Linked DNA regions of Homo sapiens: all the other regions are linked to region 3. Evidence: promoter capture Hi-C in human tissues and cell types (Jung and others, 2019). All regions are on one chromosome and are shown on one strand. The core of a region is centred on a gene start or on the middle of the fragment in contact, and the rest is flanking DNA. Distances in the headings are between cores, read along the strand shown. Region 1 has its middle 10 kb from the start of BST1. Region 2 overlaps CD38 (CD38 molecule). Region 3 holds the start of FGFBP1 (fibroblast growth factor binding protein 1).

Region 1 (4,292 bases), core at 1,320-3,819, 250 kb after region 3:
TAGACATGTTATTAGCCAAAAAAGGTAGGGTTTGTGTTATAATTAAAACCCAATATTGCACCTTCATCCCAAACAACACTGCTCCCAATGGAAGCATAACAAAGGCCTTGCAGGGATTTACTGCTTTATCCAATGCATTAACTAAAAATTCTGAAGTCAATGACCCTATTTCAGAATGGCTAGGAAAGTGGTTTGGTAAATATAAAGGAAACATAGCCTCAATTCTTATTTCTCTTGCAATCGTACTAGACGAACTCGTTAGGTGATGTGTCATACCATGCATCCATAGGCAAATACAAAAGATTGTACAAACAGCACTTACTAAAGCCTCCCTTAGTTCTCCTCCACCTTATTCAAGTAAGCTTTTCCTTTTAGAAGATCAAAACAAACGGCAAAGCCAAGACATGTTAAAGAGTTTGAAGAGAAAAATCATAAGAAAATTTAAAAGGGAGGAGTTGTAAGATACAATGAATTTCTCTGAGTTTCTCTTCAAAAATGTAGCCTGCTAACTTCCTTGTCTTTTGTTCTCAAACTCAACTTTCCTGTTCCTCCTTGTCCCTAGTTACTGTAAAACAGCCTACCCCTTTTCTGTCATCCCTAATCAATAACTCACATCTATTCCCTTGGTTACCTGCACCCATTGTGTCCCTGAAACTGCACGTCTCACATGCTCCACCTCTGTAGCTCACGTCCCCCTCCCCTTTTATATTTAGAAAAATATGTACAAGTAGCCAATAGGGTCAGCTCAGATTGTGCAGTCTGACCCTACCCATGGGGGAGGGACACAGAAGTAGGAATTGCGTTAAGGATATAAAAACCCCCCAGTCTCCTTTGTTCTCTGTGCTCTTGCGATCTTAGTTGATGCAAGTGGCACCCTTCTGCAGAAGTCAATTGCCTTGCTGACAGGATTAAACTTTTGCCTGACTGCTGGTTTTACTTCACGGCACCGAGCATTTATTCCTCGAGCTTTTTATATCCAACAAACTCAAAAATAAGAAAAACAACCACATCTTAAAATTGGCAAAATAGTTAAACAAATGCCTCACCAAAGAAGATATTCCATTCCTAGGTATTTACCAAAGGAAAAATGAAAATACATCTATGCAAAGATTTGTGCCCATGTTTGTAGAAGCTTAATTCGTAACTCAAAACAGTAAACAATGCAAATGTCCAACAACAATATATTAATAACTTGTAACATCATCATATAATAGAGTATTATTTAGCAATACAAAAAAATGACAAATCTTTTAAAAATATGCTGAATGAAAGAAGCTAGATGTAAAAGAACACAAACTTTATTACTCCACTTACATAAATTTCTAGAAGAAATAGTAGTATGCTGATATACACAGTTGGCGGAAAAGAGATTTCAGATGGAACGAATTGCCTGAGCAAAGGCAGAAAAGGAAAAACCATGGAGCTTCTGAAAACAGTTGAAAATTTAGTTTGATTGGTAAACAGGTTGCAGATGGAGATTGGACAGGAAAGTTAGGGTCATATCTTAAAACCATTGAGCACAATGCTAAGGCATTTTCACTTTGTTCTCTTGATCATTATGAGTTATCAATAATTTCTGAGCTTCCTTATTGAAAACTGTGTTTCTTTTCTTGGCCAAAATTCTTGATTGCCAGAGAATGAAGAGAGATTATGCATTTAAAGGCCTTAGAATAGTGTTTCATAGTGTGCTCTCATTGATGGTTTTGAATGCTTATCTAATATGTTCTGTGTGTTTATTGTCCGTTGTGGAAGGCTGAAAAATAGGCCAGCAAAGATGTCCATGTCCTAAACCCTGGAGCCTATGAATACGTTACTTTACATAGTAAGAAGGCCTTTGCAGATGTGATTAAATTAAGGATCTTGAGATGAGCAGATTATACTGGCTGATCTGGATGAGTCCAATGTCATCTTAAGAGTCCTTACAGGAGGAAGTCAGGTAAATCAGAGACACAGAGAAAATAATGTGATGGCAAAAGCAGAGAGATACTTGAAGATATTATGCTGCTGGCTCTGAAGATGCAGGAAGGAGCCATAAGACAGGGGACGCAGGCAGACTTCAGAAGCTTGGAAGGGTAAGGAAACATTCTTCCCTGAATAATCCAGATGGAATGAATCCTGCTGATACCTCGACTTTTGCCCAGTATACATTGGACTCCAAAGAAGAATAAATTTATGTTGCTTTAAGCCACTATGTGGCAATTTGCTAAAGCAGCAATAGGAAACAAATACAGATTAGGGTACCTGAAACCATCACTCTTTCTGCCCCTTTTCCCCTTCATTTGTAAGGTTGAACTTGGGAATCACCAGGAGTAGGACTATTATTCTTGTTTAATCTTGACCAGAGTCCACAAGGAAGGCACCCCAAAGAAAAAGCAAGATTGGAGAATAGGTGAGTTCAGTCATCAAGATAAAGATTTTTCTGGCCCCAAATTATGACAACTTTGCTGTAACAAACACTAAAATTATGGAAGTAATTTGGATTTGGATAATCTGTAGAGAGACTGGAAGAATTCTTAGGAATATGATAGAAGAGGCCTAAATATGCTCGAATAGGCTGTTAGTAAAAATACGGGTGTTATGAGGGCTTGGAAGTAAGTGAACAGCATGGTAGAGAAAACCTGTATCATACTAGAGAAAATCTTAACACACCATAAACTGTAGAAATATAGATGTTAAAAGTGCTGCTGGTGAGGGCTCACAAGAAATTGAGAAACATATTTTTGGAAACTAAAGGAAAGAGGGTTCTTGTTATACAGTGGTAGAAAGCTTAGATGAATTGTGTCCTATAATTGTAAGAAAACAGAACTTTTAAGCAATGAACTTGTATAGTTGAAGTTTCCAAGCAGTGATGAAGGTCTGACTTGGATTTTTCTTGTTACTTTTAGAAAAATGAGAGAGAAAAGGGATAAACTGAGAGAACTGTTAGAAAATGAAACTATGATTTGATGATTTGAGTAATTCTCAGCCTATCCAGATTGCAAAAGATGCCAAAGCTAAGAGATCCACTGTAAGGAAAACATGCTCTGGCGAGAAAGCCAACAATATGGCTGCACATCCTTTTTTTAAAAAGTTTTTGAATTTTAAATTGTGGTAAAATATACACAATATGAAATTTATTATCTTAACTATTTGTAAGTGTGGGTAGTCTTTTGCTACTGCTTAGGAGGCACAAAAGATTACAGTATTCAGATACACAGAGCTCTTTGAAGAGGCATGTGACTCACAAACCCCCTCAACCAATCTCAGCAGAAGCCCCAACTAGAGATAGGATTATTCAGGAAACATCTGTTGAGAAGCCTCTTTCAATGGAGTGAATCCCTATGACTCACAATGTTTTGTTTACCAATAGAAACACTGTCAAATTGGACTAAAACGGACAGAGTGGTTGAAATGAAAGAAGGCAACCGAGTTCCCTAAATTCTACTAGCAGGAAATGGGCTAATAAAACTATTTAGTAGCAGACATGTGGTACTCCTCATCCAAAAAGATGGCTCTGAGGGTGGAGCCCCAGGTACAGAGGGCAGGTGCAGGAGCCACAGCTATTCCCAGGCTTAGTAACCTAATGCAGTTTGTCCATGGGACTTTGAAAGGAATTGGCTGGTGTCTTCTTTTTGGCTTTTTCTCCCTTTTTGAATGGGAACATCTATGAATGTTACCCTATTTCTGTCCCACTACTGTTGTAGAGCACAGAACTTGCTTTCTAGTTTCATAGGTCCTTAGATAAAAAATTTTGCCCCAGAGTAGATTATACTCAGAGCTGCACCCATATCTAATTTAGATATGAGATTTGGGACTTTTTAGTTGATGAAACTTAGATGAGATTTGGACTTGAGTTGATGCTATAATGGGTTGAGATTTATGGGGACCCTAGGAGGGGTGAATGTATTTTTCACATGGGATGGATGAGTCTTTGGGGACCAGAGGGTGCTACAGTAGGCTTAATAATGGCCTCCCCAAAGATGTCTACATCCTACTGCCTGAAACCCATGAATGTTACCTTACATGGTAAAAGAGATTTTACAGAGGAGACACACAGAAACACACAAACCTCTGGATCAGAGACACAATTTCTTATTCATAGCAAAAACAGCAGCCAGAGTAGCATTGTATGTGTTCCCCATGCTCCAATTCCTATAACGTAATACAGTAAGGGCCAGGTGTTACCTCTGCATGGAGTGGGTTGCACTACAGAAGAGGAGCCCCAAATTTTAAGTCTCTAGGCTTTTATGGGGCTGCTGACATGTCTGCCTATCTTCTCCAGAGAGATTACTCATTATTTCTGGAATGTAGGC
Region 2 (4,125 bases), core at 363-2,862, 140 kb after region 3:
GACATTTCAATACGTGCATACAATGCATAATGATCGAATCTGTGTAATTGGCATATCCATTATCTCAAAGGTTTATCATTTCTTTGTGCTGGTAATGTACAAAATTTTCTCCTCTCAGTACTTGAAAATATACAATAAGTTATTGTTCACTATAGTCACCCTACAATGCTATAGAACACTAAAACTAAAACTTATTTCCTCTATCCATATATATAATTTTGTATTCATTGATCAATCTCTGTCTCCCTACCCTTCTCAGCTTCTAGTAACCACTATTCTACTCTCTACTTCTCTGAGATCAACTTTTTTAGCTCCCACATGTAAGTGAGAATATATGAAACTTGTCTTTCTGTGCCTGGCTTATATCACTTAACATAATGTCCTCCAGGCTCATCCATGTTGCCACCAATGATAGGATTTCATTCTCTTTTATGGCTGCATTCCATTGTCTATATATCCCACATTTTCTTTATCTCTTCATCTGTTGATAGACACTTCGGTGGATTCCATATCTTCATTATTATAAATGAAACTACAGTAAAGATGGGAGTGCAGGTATCTCTTCGACATATGATTTTATTTTCTTTGGATATAGGTCCAGTAGCGAGATTACTGGATCATATGGTAGTTCTATTTTTAGCCTGTTAAGGAACTTCCACACTGCTTTCCATAATAGCTGTACTAATTTACATTCCTACCAACAATGTGTGAGAATTTTCTTTGTCGCTTATACACTGTTGGTGGGAATGTAAATTAGTTCAACCGCTGTGAATATCACTTTGGAGATTTCTTAAAGAACTATTAATAAAAACTGAATTACCATTCAACCCAGAAATCCCACTACTGGGTATATGGCCCACAGGAAAATAAATTGTTCTACCAAAAAAAAGACATGCACTTATATGTTCATTACAGCACTATTCACAGTAGCAAAGACATGGAATCAACCTAGATGCCCAATAATGGCAGATTGGATAAAGAAAATGTGGTGGTATGTATACACCATGGAATACCATGCAGCCACAAAAAGAAGAATGAAATCATGTATTTTGCAGCAACATGAATGCAGCTGGAGGCCATTATCCTAAACAAGTTAACGCAGAAACAGAAAACCAAATACTACATTTCTCACTTATAAGTGGGAGCTAAACATTGGGTACGCATGGACATAAAAATAGGAATGCTAGGCACTGGGGAGTATAAGAGGAGGGAGGGAAGGAGGAAGGAAGGGTTGCAAAACCACATATTGGGTACTATGCTCACCACCTGGGAGATGGGTTCAATCATATTCTGAAACCTCAACATCATGCAATACACCTGCACATGTAACCCCTGAATCTAAAGTAAAAGCTGAAATGTTTTAAGTTTCCTTTTATCTGCATTCTTGCTAGCTTTGTTATTTTTTCTTCTTTTTGATGATAGCCATTCTAGCTGGCGTGAGATAATATCTCACTGTGATTTTGATTTGCATTTCCCTAATCATTAGTCACATAGAGCACTGTTTCAAATACTTAGTGGCCATTTTATGTCTTCTTTTGAGAAACGTCTGTTCAGATCAATTGCCGATTTTAAAAATCAGATTATTTGGCTTTTTGCTGTTAAGTTCCTTGTATATTCTAGATATTAATTCCTTGTCAGAGAAACCGTTTGCAAATATTTTATCCCATTCTGTAGTTTGTCACATGACTCTGTTGATTGTTTACTTTGCTGCACAGAAATGTTTAGTTTGATGTAATCCCATTAGTCTATTTTTGCCTTTGTTGACTGTGTTTTGGAGGTCTTATCCATAAAATCTTTGCTCAGAACATTTTCCTTATGTTTTCTCTTAGTAGTTTCATAATTTGGGGTCTTACACTTAAGTCTTTGATTCGTTTTGAGTTACTTTTTTATATTATGATAGATGGGGCTCTAGTTTCATTCTTCTGCATATGAATATCCAGTTTCCCCAGCAATATTTATTGAAAAAGGTGTCCTTTCTTCAGTTTATGTTCTTAGTGCTGTTGCAGAAAATCAATAGGCCATAAATATGTGAATTTATTTCTGGGTTCTCTATTCTGTTCCATTGATTTATGTGTTGCTTTAATGCCAATACAATGCTGTTTTACTATAGTATTATATTTTAAAGTAAAGTAGTGTGATCCCTCCAGTTCTTTTTGCTCAGAATTGCTTTGGCTTGGCTAGGAGCAGAGGCTCATGCCTGTAATACCAGCACTTTGGGAGGCTGAGGCAGGTGGATCACTTGAGGTCAGGAGTTTGAGACCAGCCTGGCCAACATGGTGAAACCCTATCTCTACTAAAAATAGGGCATGGTAGTGCATGTCTGTAATTCTAGCTACTGAGGTGGCTGAAGCAGGAGAATTGCTTGAACCCAGGAGGGAGAGATTGCAGTGAGCTGAGATCATGCAACTGCACTCCAACCTGTGTGACAGAGGGAGACTGTCTCAAAAATAAAATGAAATGAAGTGAAATAAAATAAAATAAAATAAAATAAAATAAAATAAAATAAAATAAAATAAAATAAAATAAAACAAACAATTGCTTTGGCTATTTGGGGTCTTTTATGGTTCCTAACAAATTTAAGAATCTTTTTTTCCATTTCTGTGAAAAATGCCATTGAAAATTCGATAGAGATTGCACTGAATCTGTAGATTCCTTTGGGTAGTATGGAATCTTAACAATATTAATTTTTCCAATCCATGAACATGGGATATCTATCCAATTTTTTATGTCCTCTTCAATTTCTTTTATTAGTGTTCTGTAGTCTTTATTCTAGAGATCTTTCACCTCTTTGGTTAAATTTACTCCTAGGTGGAGGTTTTTTTTGGGGGGTAGCTATTGTAAGTGGGGTTCCTTTTACAGATAGTTTATTATTGGTGTATAGAAATGCTACTGATTTTTGTATGTTGATTTTGTATCTCACAACTTTACTGAATTTGTATATCAATTCTAAGAGTTTTTTGGTGGAGTCTTTAGATTTTTCTGTAGGTAAGAGGATGTCATCTGCAAACATGGTCAATTTGACTTATTCCTTCCAAATTTGGATGTCTTTTATTTCTTTCTGTTGCCTAATTGCTCTGGCTAGAACTTCCAGTACTATGTGGAATCAGAGTAGTGAGGGTAAGCATCCTTATCTTGTTCCAGTTTTTAGAGAAAAAACTTCCAACATTTCCCTGTTTGGTACAATATTAGCTGTGGATTTGTCATATATGGCCTTTATTAAGATGAAGTGTGTTCCTTCTTCTAAACCTAATTGTTTGAGAGTTTTTATCATGGAGGGATGTTGAATTTTATCAACTGTTTTTCTGCATCTATTGTGGTGATCATATGATTTTTGTCCTTCATTCCGTTGATGGGATGTATTATGTTTGTTGATTTGCATATGTTGAACCACTCTTGCATCCCTGGAATGAATCCCACCTGGTTTTAGTAAATAAACTTATTAATGTGCTGTTGGATTCAGTTTGCTAGTATTTTGTTGAGGAACTTTCCATTTATGTTCATCAGGGATACTGGCCTGCAAAATTCTTTTTTTGTTGTTGTATCCTTGTCTGGTTTTGTATCAGGTTAATTCTGGCCTTATAGAATGAGTTTGGAAGAATTCTCTTCCCTTCAATTTTTTGGAATAGTTTGAGAAGAATTGGTAGTTATTTTTCAAAGTTTGGTAGAATCCAGCAGTAAAGCCATCCAGTCCTGAGCTTTTTTTTTTAATTGGGAAACTTTTTATTGTTGTTTAATAAAAATTATTATTGAGGTTCCTCAATAATTGTTATTGGTCTATTCGGATTTTGTATCTCATCCTGGTTCAATCTTGGTAGGTTGTAGGTGCCCAGAAATTTATCCATCTCCTCTGGGCTTTCCAATTTATTGGTGTTCATAATAGTCTCTTACGATCCTTTATATTTTTGTGGTATCAATTGTAACATCTCCTTTTTCATTTATTTGGTTCTTCCCTCTTTTTTCTTAGTTAGTCTAGGTAATGCTTAGTCAATTTTTTTTAAAAAACAACTTTTCATTTTGTTGATCTTTTGTATTACTTTTCCAACCTATTTCATTTATTTCTGTTCTGATCTTTATTATTTACTTCCTTCTACTAATTTGGAGTTTGGGGGTTTTGTTGTTGTTGTT
Region 3 (4,133 bases), core at 1,320-3,819:
ATGATAGCAGCGGCCTCCAGATAATTCTTCTCTAATTGTGTGTCAGACACTGTGCTTAGTCCCCCTAAGCCTTGCCTCCACATCTGTCCCATGAGGACCTGGGCCGACTTTCCTCCTGGGGTTCTTGTGCAATGGGCCTTTATGTACTCATCCCCAAGAATTACAGAGCCCCTCAGTGCTGGGAGCATGGGGAGGTGGAGGGGCCTGAAGTTACTGGAACCTGCTATGCACTGCGTGGCTGGGGCTCCATGTCCTCTGCAGTCTCCCCAGAGCCACTGGAAAAGGACATCGTTTCCTTAGTTCATGGAGATACGAAGAAAGCTTGGGAAACAGCCTTAGCACAGTGCCTGGCACGCTGTAAGCTCATTGGAGGAAGTGTGCCATTTCTCCCCGTGGACATTCTTAAAGATGTGGGTGGCATGCAGGGCGTCAGGAGCCAATGACACCAACAGAGAGGGGCTCGCATTGGAGCCTGGCCTTGAAGGATGAGGCGGTGTGTGCCAGGCAGAGAAGGAAGGGAAGGGGATCCCAAGTGCAGGGAACAGCAGAGGCAAAGGCAGGAAGTGGGCGCATGCATGGAGTATCTGCAAATGGTGGGACAGGGTTTCAGTGTGGCCAGATTGCAGTGTGTGTGTGCATGTGTGTGTGTGTCTGTCTCTGTGTGTGTGTCAGTGTCACTGTGTGTGATTCTGTGTGTGTGTGCCTATGAGTATGTGTGTGAATGTGTCTAGGTGTCAGTATGTGTGTGTCTCTGTGTGTCTATGAGTGTGGTGTCTTTGAGTGTGTTTGTGTGTGTTTGAGTGTGTCAGTGTGTGTTTGTGTGTGTCTTTGTATGTGTGTCAGTGTGTATGTGTATTTATGTGTCTGCGTGTGAGTACCTGGAAATGAGGTTGGAAGGGCAGGATGAGCCAAGGAGGTGACTGCCCCACAGCCTGCTCTGATGCTGTGCTGCTGAGTCTAGAAGGGAAAGAGCAAAGCAGACGCTGGGATGGGAGTCACAGGAAGGGGAAGGGCCACAAGGAGCCAGTGGGGAATGTGCAGTGTTACCTGGCAAAGCTCAGAGAAGCACTTCCCAGAAAGACCCCGGAGTCCACATGTTTCCTTGTAAATATGTTTTGTGTTCCAACTGCAATCTGCCTCCAGAAAGAATCTGCCTGCCTCCCAAGGATCAAGTAGAATTTTCCATTTTGTAGGAGACTCCCCTTGTTGAGCAAAGCAGCTTTGCCTTGCCTATGTCCAAATAATCCTCCAAAATACCGCATGAGAGAGCCTGTTCGTGGAGGTCAGGGCCTCAGCGGGGTGTTTGTGAGGATAGTGAGGACGGACCCCTGGGTGAGGCAATTTTAGGAGAGAGGCACACAGCTTCAGAAATGGCTTCTTCCAACAGATTCATGCAGAGACTGAGCCTCTGAGTAAATTGGTCAACATCTATAGCTATGACCACGGAATTCTCAAACAGGTGGATCGTTCATAAAATCCAAACACAGTTACAAGTTTTGGCCTGCATAGTGTTGAGCTACAGCTTTATTTTTAGAAAATTTTAATTAGCTGCCAACCAATTTCATATAAACACATCTGGATTTGGGGATGTCATTTTAAAAATCAGACAGTGTGACAATACTGAGCCTAATCCCTGCATTTTCTCAGTCAATTGGAGATGAGTGTTGACCTCTATGGAGGCAGAGACTCTCTAGTTTGCCACAGTCCCCATCACTCCCTATTGCCTTATCTCAAACCCAAAAGTCAGTTGCCATTTAATATCACACTAAACAATAGTTTTCTTATGGCTGAATTAAGGAAAAGTGAACAATTTCTTCTTCTGAAAATCTATGAAAGGTGAGGTGATAATATATAATGAGGGCCACATCTTCCCTGTAGAAGTGAGTTTCTTTTTAAATGCTGCATATGTAAATAACAAATGTCTGTTTTCAAAGTATACAACTTAAGACCCTGTCATGAGGCAAAACGATTCTGCTCCACTTTATGTTAACAGCTTAGCCCAGTAAAAATTTAGTATGCAGCTATAAAGGAGACGTTGTTATTGTCAGCACACTGCAAATGGATGATGGGAGAGGCTAAGTGGTTTGGGCATAGCACTCAGCTAAACACATGCTGTGGCCAGGATTCCACCTGGGTCATTCTGGTGTGGGACTGTGCCTGTAGCAGGCAGGGCAGCCTGAGCTCTCTGAATGAGACCTGAAGGTAAGTATTTACAACAGTAATCTTATATTAAAAATTCCCTCTTTACCAGCCTCTCAGAGCCTGGTAGAATTCCCTGATAAAAAAGAGGGAATTTTTAATGTAAATTTCCCTGCCTCTAGAATTAGGGTATCCTCTGCTTATGTAGTAACTTCAGATGGAAAAAGGAACTCAGACACTACGAAAACTTCGGCAACTTCAGTCACCCATTCAACAAAGATTTATTGAGAGTGGCAGGCAGGAAGAGATCAGACCATGGATGTAGAGAATCTCACTTTTAATTTTGAGATGTTCCTTTTCCTGCCTCTGTGAACTTGGACAAGCTCTTACATATCTCCAGAACCAATTCCTGCTTTTGTAAAAGGGGAGGAATCATTGCACTCCCTACTAGAGCGGATGTGATGAGGGAAAAGGAGAACTCAGGTAAAATGGGCTCAGTAGTTTGGCAGCTCGGATCATGTCATTATAGTTATTTTACTCCTCCATAGACATCACTGCTGGGGTCCTCTCCCCATCAAGGAGGGTCACTGTGAGGCTGAGTTGTCCTCCTATCCTGGCCACAGGGTGGACAGGGAAGGGCCTAGAGGAAGCGTTTGATGGCATGCAGGTAACCCCCCTTTTCACTGGATTACATCCAGCACTTTCCCTGCAGGAACCGGCTCCCTCGGAGGGGCGTGGCTGGGAGGAGCTGTGAGTAACGTGCCACAGTGTTGTAAAAACCCAGTGAGTGTTATAAAAACCCAGTCAGCCTGGCTCCTGTTGAATAGTCTACCCCCCTTGCACTCTACCTGACACAGCTGCAGCCTGCAATTCACTCGCACTGCCTGGGATTGCACTGGATCCGTGTGCTCAGAACAAGGTAAGAGCCTCGCTCCTTTAACAGCTTTATTACCTGCTGCCACTTCTCACTCCACCAAGGGCCTGGAGTTCCTTGGGCCTGCATTCCATCATGGGCAGGTGGGGGCTGAGCCCCAGGGCCGTGAGAAATGACTGGGTGTTTTTCTGGCATATCCAGTCTCCTCTTCACCATTTATTGCTGTTCTCTGCCCTTTTGTGATTGTCTTTCTCCTTCTTAACCCTAGAAGATGGCCAACTTCTAGGGTAGAAATCAGATCAGGACCATTTCCTGGGTCTGCCTCTTTTTATAAAAAATTCTGTGTTTTGTTTTAAATGGAGCACAAATAATACAAATCATCTTATCATTATGTGTTATATGAAACTAAATTGTCATTGTTCATAGTTGTTTTTCTTATTCTTTGGCAATGTTTTTAAAGGGCAGAGTAAATGTGAAAAGCAAAAAGTGATCAACCAGGGGTGACAGAAAGGAATAAGGAGATTGATCTGGCTACCCATACCAGCTTTGAACTTGCCCACTATGAGATCCTGAGCAATTTACTTACCTGTCTGAGCCTTAAGAGTCAGAGCTGTCACCTGGGATGACATATTAATAGCTACCTGGAAGAGCTCTTGTGTGGATTTCACAAGGTGGGAATCAAACCCTAGACCAGTACTTAGCACACAGGAGGTGTCATATAGAAACTGACTTCTCTTCTTCTGTTAAGCATGGGTTTTTATTGTACACATGATCAGATTCATGCAGTTCAGTGTGACGTTGGTGTTCATCCTATTGATTCAATGATTTCTCATGATCCTTGTCTTCGATCTTGTAGTGTGAACTATCTGGTTGAAATTCACCTCTCTCCACCCTGATTCACTTTGCCCAGGCAAATCAGACAACCACCCCACCTCACACCTTTCCTTAAACTCTTACTTCCCCACAAAAAGCTCCCCCACCCCCACAACCCCACCCACCCCACCCAAACCCCAGGCATGTTCAACTCTGGGTCAACATCACCTTTCATGATGCTTACCACATCCTTTCTCATTTTGGGCATCTGTCATGTCTTTTCTCATTTTGGGCATCTGTGTCCATA

What was found. Contacts are between HindIII fragments. The study calls those that stand out against the background at their distance.
Region 1: a fragment that was not itself captured here is called in contact with the fragment with the promoter of FGFBP1 in region 3 in 2 of the 25 tissues and cell types used here (bladder and liver).
Region 2: a contact is called between a fragment that was not itself captured here and the fragment with the promoter of FGFBP1 in region 3, in 1 of the 25 tissues and cell types used here (mesendoderm cells).

The regions. Positions count from the first base shown.
Region 1 is chr4:15,690,631-15,694,922 of GRCh38, reverse strand. No RefSeq gene overlaps it. Among named protein-coding and RNA genes, the nearest start is that of BST1, 10 kb to the left of the region's middle. The HindIII fragment of the contact is 5,285 bases long and covers 1-4,292 here.
Region 2 is chr4:15,800,895-15,805,019 of GRCh38, reverse strand. The region is part of intron 1 of CD38 (CD38 molecule); the gene reads right to left. Among named protein-coding and RNA genes, the nearest start is that of CD38, 25 kb to the right of the region's middle. The HindIII fragment of the contact is 3,995 bases long and covers 1-3,609 here.
Region 3 is chr4:15,937,176-15,941,308 of GRCh38, reverse strand. It overlaps FGFBP1 (fibroblast growth factor binding protein 1), which reads left to right and starts at 2,569. Exons shown (of 3, transcript NM_005130.5): 1 at 2,569-2,622; 2 at 2,838-3,058. The HindIII fragment of the contact is 13,154 bases long and covers 1-4,133 here.